Linked DNA regions of Homo sapiens: region 2 is linked to region 1. Evidence: promoter capture Hi-C in 16 types of primary human blood cells and fetal thymus (Javierre and others, 2016). All regions are on one chromosome and are shown on one strand. The core of a region is centred on a gene start or on the middle of the fragment in contact, and the rest is flanking DNA. Distances in the headings are between cores, read along the strand shown. Region 1 overlaps SLC25A48 (solute carrier family 25 member 48). Region 2 holds the start of MACROH2A1 (macroH2A.1 histone).

What was found. The method cuts DNA at HindIII sites, captures the fragments that hold promoters and counts their contacts. A CHiCAGO score of 5 or more calls a contact.
Region 2: the fragment with the promoter of MACROH2A1 here is called in contact with a fragment that was not itself captured in region 1 in 1 of 17 cell types (M2 macrophages); the score reaches 5.9 in M2 macrophages.

The regions. Positions count from the first base shown.
Region 1 is chr5:135,874,462-135,877,669 of GRCh38, reverse strand. The region is part of intron 6 of SLC25A48 (solute carrier family 25 member 48); the gene reads right to left. Among named protein-coding and RNA genes, the nearest start is that of IL9, 20 kb to the left of the region's middle. RefSeq lists an enhancer at 1-112. The HindIII fragment of the contact is 557 bases long and covers 1,107-1,663 here.
Region 2 is chr5:135,397,775-135,400,612 of GRCh38, reverse strand. It overlaps MACROH2A1 (macroH2A.1 histone), which reads left to right and starts at 1,382. Exons shown (of 9, transcript NM_138610.3): 1 at 1,382-1,551. RefSeq lists enhancers at 125-630, 631-1,136 and silencers at 1,037-1,496, 1,507-1,676, 1,987-2,046. The HindIII fragment of the contact is 9,460 bases long and covers 1-2,838 here.

The DNA of each region.
Region 1 (3,208 bases), core at 136-2,635:
GAATGCAGGGCTGTGTGGATGGTTTGCCTCTGAGACCCCAGCACCTGCGAGCGCTTCGCCCAGAGTAGACCTTCCATAAACACATTAATTGAATCAGTGAATGGATGGATGGATGAGTAAATGAATGAATGAATAAATGAATTTTGGACGTGACAAAGGAAGAGCGTCTGAACTGAAAGAGTCCTGGTGCCTGCAGTTCAGGTTTCCTGGAGTGACAGGAAGGCTCCAGATTCCCCAGGGACAGCAACCCAGGGCAGCTGGCCCTGGTGCCTCCAGAAGCTGTCTACCTACAAATGCCCCCTCTGTCTGCCATTCAGCCTCATCTCACTGCCACAGCCCCTCCACAGCAGCTGCTTCCTTGGAGCCAAGATTACCAAGGTGCTCACCAGCCTGGTTATTTCAGATGGCAACTCTCCAAGTCAGAGCTATGGTCCATGTAGCCCAAGACGACCCTAACAGTGGGCAGAGAATGGCTCCAAAACTACCAGACTTTCCTTCTGTTTCTACTTGGGGATGCCTCGACAAGTCCATGGACTTTTGATTTTCCCCACCACAAAGGCTGCACCACTGATCATTCCTAAGTTGGTTACAAAGAGCTACTCAAATTGGTCACCATCGTCATTATTAATGCCTTTCTAACTCTTTCCTGTCACAAACTTCTTCCTCCATAGCAAGGTGAGAACAGATTGGAATGATGATGGGCTTTGGGCCTTGCACTCTATCTCTGCGAGCCACAGTCAAGAATGCTTGGGGAGGGGTGCTCCATTCAGCCAGAGCCCAAGCCAACTGGGAACTGGAGCCACCCCTGGGGCACTGGAGGAATCCTCTCTACCTTCTCCTGCTGCGGCTGCCAGAAAACTGCCTTTGAGACAACCTGATTGTTTTAGATGGTGTGATTATTTTTGTTTATGTTACTATTTATGTTCATAAGTAAACAGTCACATATACAAGCATACATAGATATGTACATACACATATATTCTTTTATACACTGTAAATGTTTTTGAAATGTATCACAAGAAACTTTACGGTAATTGCCTTTGAGCGAGGACAGGGACCACAGGCAGGGCATCGAGATAGTATATCCTCATGTAGTTTTGGAAGCTTCCTATGTTCATACATTACCAATTTTTGACTGATTAATACAAATTTTAAACAATTAACCTTGAACCGTCTGATCATGCAGTGGTTACTCAAGCTGAGTATTATTATCTTGACTTAAAACCTGTCTCTGAACCAACAGTGAGGACCAAACGCTATCGAGATTAAGAAACCAATCGTCTGACCTCAGCTGACTTCCAGGACTTCATTTTTTTAAAAGAGCACAGTAATTTTCAGAGGAAATAATATCAGCAATATATTTTGCCTCTACAGACTTTTTACGAATTATGACACATTAATATTTGGGGAAGTAGACAAAAACATCTCAAATAAAAATGAATCATCCACTTGAAACACTTTTATATCCCTCTATACTCATTGGCTGAATCACAAACTGTATTTCTGCTAAAAAAAAAAAAAAAAAAAAAAAAAAAAAAGAAGAAGAAAAAAAAGATACAAAAGACAATTGAGGCCGCACCAGGGCTGGGCTTCACCCTTCTGTCAGAGCAGCTCTTGTTAAAAATTTAAAAAAGGAATTTAAAATAATGAGAATAGGAAAGCTTTGAGTTTCTCCATCCTTAAAACATAAAGACAGAACTCAAGTTTCCTCCGTATCACATCTTCTTATACTAACCAGGGTCCAGCTTCTCCTCACATGCTATGATATCCTGCTCTTCATTCCCAGGGCACCACTAGGGTCTTGCTTAATGGGTAGTGACCAAAGGTGGATGCAACATTCCAGCTGCAATCTGGTCAGGGCAGAGGCCTCCACCTCCCTTATTCTACCCACTGTACTTCTATTAATGCAACCTTAGGACAGGTCTCACTGTTCGCTCACTGCCAACATTAGCTGATCAGAGAATGGGCTTTTTCTCTTTTGCTTACTGCTCTGTCCCCAGCTCCTAGAACTGTGCCTACCACATACTAGGTGCTCTAAAAATAAGCATTTGAAAACTAAAGCCCTTAGGCATTTTTCCCTAGAAGCCTTCATCAAATCGGATTGCCCCATCCTCTACAGAGATGATTGATCCATGATTGAATACTAAGGGCTGGACTTTACAGTGACTTCTGGTAGTTCTGTCTTTTAGTGTGGCCCTTTGATCTAGCTTTTGGATCTTGTCCCTCTCATGTGGCATGTTAGTTATTTACCTCAACACTGGGTCATCCAACTCTGGATCTTTCCCAAGTTGGGGGAGAGAGTAAAACAGGACGTCAGAAAACTTGCTGTAAGAGGCAGAGAAGGGGCAGTATAGAAATAGCTGTTGCCCGTGGTGGTGTGTGAGAAGCCCCTTGAGAGAGGTACAGGAGAAGCAAGCCAAGGACATGGATCCTGGGAATGGCAGCGGACTGCACTGGGCCTGGAAGGATGGGGCAGATTCATCTGGCAGGGCCTGGGGTGGGGCAGCCATGTGAGAAAAGACTCAGAGCTCCAGGGTAATACCGGTGCTAAAAAAATCAACACTGATAATACTAATGCAAATGAGAAATGGTTAACTCTTCCCTATGGGTTACATATTGAATGGAGTGCTTTTTGTATTAACCCACAAATGCCCCGCCCTTCATGGAAGGGATGATCATTCTGGGAGAAACTGAGGCCCTGAGACATGAAGCTGCTTGCTTGGATCCTGCCAGCTCACAGTAGCTACATCTGACTTTGAACCCATGTCTGCTGACTCTAAGAGCCACACCAAGAAAGCAAGGAGCCCGTGCAAGCAAGAGCCAGCAGGATAGTTCCTGCGGAGGGTGATGAATCTGTGTATTACCTTGGACACCAGACATGGAAGTCTGGTCTATCCTGGGGCAGCACCTTTTCAGGTGGTGGGAAGGGGTGTGTGTTAAGTTAAGCTCTTGAGCTGTAGGAAGAACAGAGGAGACACAGCCCAGGGAAACGTGTTGGAGGCTGCCTCCTCAGCCACGACCAGAGGTCTGGGGTCAGGGCTCAGGTGGGAGAGCAGAAGGCAGTTCACAGGGCCTGGAGCTGGTGAGATGAGCTGACTGAGGACAGGAAGGAGGCAAGGCAGCTCTGGCACTTCCCACTGGGAGGAGGAGTGGGGAAGGCACTGAGCCATGAGTGAGGAAGGGCTGCCCAACCTATCTTGATGAGAAG
Region 2 (2,838 bases), core at 133-2,632, 480 kb after region 1:
AGACATCCACACGGCTTGCTCCCTCAATTTCTTCAGGCTTTAAATGTTACTTTCTCATAGAGGCCTTCTCTTGTATTTGAGCCTCACTCTTATCTCACACTTCCTATTCCCCTTCTCCGCCTTATTTTTCTCCACCCCATGGAGACCCTCTGACACATTCTCCCGTTTGTCTGTCTTTCCCCCACGAGACTGCAAACTACAGGAGGGCAGAGATTTCTGCCTGTTCTCTTGGCTGTTTCATATCCAGCACCCAAATCGATGTATGACACAAAATACGTTCTCAGTACTTAATCGAATTAACGAATGCATGAATGGCAGGTATTGGACATTGTTTTGCAAACTCTTAAAGTAAGGTGTAAAGCATCCCGGTGAGGTGGAGGTTACTGCCGCTGCGATTCCCGCGCAGCCTGAGGACTGGGGGGTGGGGGTGGGGGTCTCTAATTACCTCCATAATCCCCAGTAGCGGCACTTTAAACTTCACATCAACCCTGAGGGATGTGTATTATTATCCAAATTTAGTTCACAGCTGGATGGAGAAGTGGCTTCCGGCTCCACACTTTGGAGGGAGGGGAGTAGAGGGCAGGCCCCCATTTAAGTACCCGGGATGGGGCACCAATGCCTTCAGGCGGTAAACCAATTTAGGAAGACGTGGCGGGCTTTGTGGCGGCTCCTCCTCTTTCGGCCTGTCCGCAGTTTTTAAAAAACGTGTGTGATGATAAGGAATCACTGTCTACATTAGTAATTCCCAACTTGGGTCCGAAAGTGAACTTTTGCTGAAGCGAAGTAGCTAACCGCTTCCATGTGCAAGGCAGGTTCCAGACTTCGGGGTGAGGAGGATTAACTGAAGGACCCCAGGGGAACCGGGTGCGCAGTAATTGATCTTGGGGCAGACCAGGGCTTGGCGGTGGCCTGTATCTAAAGACAGCGGGGTCTCTGAGGCGGGGCAGGGGGGAGTTGGCATTGACTGGGGAGGGAAGAGCGATCGCTGGTAACAGCCATTGTGCCTTCCCACTGGGTTAGTGGGAAGGTTCCTAAAGATGCCGTGGCAGCGACAGTCCCGTGCTCAGAGCCAGGCACACAGTAGGCGTTCACTCGAGACGCAGAGTCTGGGACGCGCCCTGAAGAAGCTCCTCTCCAGGGGCCTGGCCCTTCCCAAGGACTGGGCTCTGGGCGTCCCCGGGGTCATGGGTCAGACCTCGCGTCCGGGGTGCGGGCTGGTGCCTGGGCGCAGAGCGGCCGGCGTCAACGGGTAGGGCGCGGGCCCGGGGTCAAGGCCGGGGCGCCGGGCGGCACGGGCGCGGAGGCCGGACGCTCGGGGCCGCGAAGGGATGTGACGAGCGGCGCGCTGTGCATTGTGGGAAGCCGGCCGCGAGGACTGGTTCCAGTTCACTCGGCAGCGGCGCCGGGCGGAGGGGGAGAGCGCGGGCCGCGCGGGCGGGAAGCGAAGAGGCGGGCGGGCCAGCGAGGAGCGCGGAGAGAAAAGGCGCGAGCGGCCAGGAGGGCTCAGGCCGAGACACCTTGCAGCTGCCGCCGCCGCCACCGAGCCGCCGCGTAAGTGCCGCGCGGGCCCCCTTGCCGCACTCCCTGTCCCCGCCGCTCGGGTCCGGCCGCGGGTGCCCGGGAGCGGCCCGGCCTGGCGCGCACCGGTGTGGTGCGGGCCGGGCTCGGGCCGCCGGGTTCGGTGTGGCCCACGCCGGGTCCTCGCGCGTGCACTACGTCCTCCCAGGCCTTGTCGGGCCGCGCGGGATTCCCTTTGGTTTTGTTCAAAAAAGAAACCTGGAAACCAACTTCTCTTCGAAACGCATCCCCCTGCCCGCGCCTGGGCGCTTTTGTGGGAAAAAAGCGGTGCTGGCGCCTACCCTGGCGACCCTTCCTGGGGCGGGCTCACGGGCCAGGCCCGAGGCCGCAGGAGGCCCCGCGGCGCTGGCTAGGCAGTCTGGGCCTGGGCACCCGGGAGCTGCTGTGAGCAGAGTTGTACTTGGTGAGGCCCCCGCCGGCCCGCGAGTTGCCGGCCCCGGCACAATAAGTCGGGCCCGAGCCCCGGGGGGCCGAGGTGTAGGCGTCTGGCTCGCTATCTGCAGGGAGGGGAAGGCGGGGGCTACTCGCGGGATTGAAGCCGGGCTGGTGCGGGGGACCGGGTTGGGGAGTGGTCCAAGGATGGGCTGGAGAGGGGCCACGGGAACCCCCGCTGCTCCCGATTGTCTCGGTATCAGCCTTTTGTTTGCTTTGTGGTAGGAAGGGTTTGCTTTTTTTAAAAGGTAACTCCGGAAGGCTGTAGGCTTCCCCGGGTGGAGAAGGCCAGCAGGAAAGAGCCTCGCTGGGGGTGGGGTGGAGTGGGGAGGTGAGTGTGCAGGATGCTGCTGGCAGTGTCACCTGACAACAGGTGTGCGACATGGCGCTCCCTACCCCCACTCCTGCAGGGGCCACAGATCACTCAAGGAGTTGGTCAGTACATTGCTTGAAAGGTTCTTTTAGACAAGATGTTAGGGGAAATGTTTCTGAGTTTCAAAGTGAGAGACTTCTGTACAAACAACTGGGACAAACCTTGAATTCAACAATTACAATGACTATAAAGGCCTTGTAAGATTTTAATGACCCAGTAAACAGCACATAAGAATAGACAATTAGAGGGGGCACTCCTGCTAGCTTCCCTCTTTTCTTCCACCTTTGTGGTTTGAGGTTTTACCGTTAAAGTAGGGGGTAAGGGAAGTGTTTTGTTCCAAAGCTCCCTGCTCCAGGGAGTCGGGCATTTTTTAACAGTCTTAGGTTTGAATGGGAGACTCGAGTTGTAAATTAGGTGGAATTCACCTACTGCAGGCCACCTTTAGGCTACTAGCC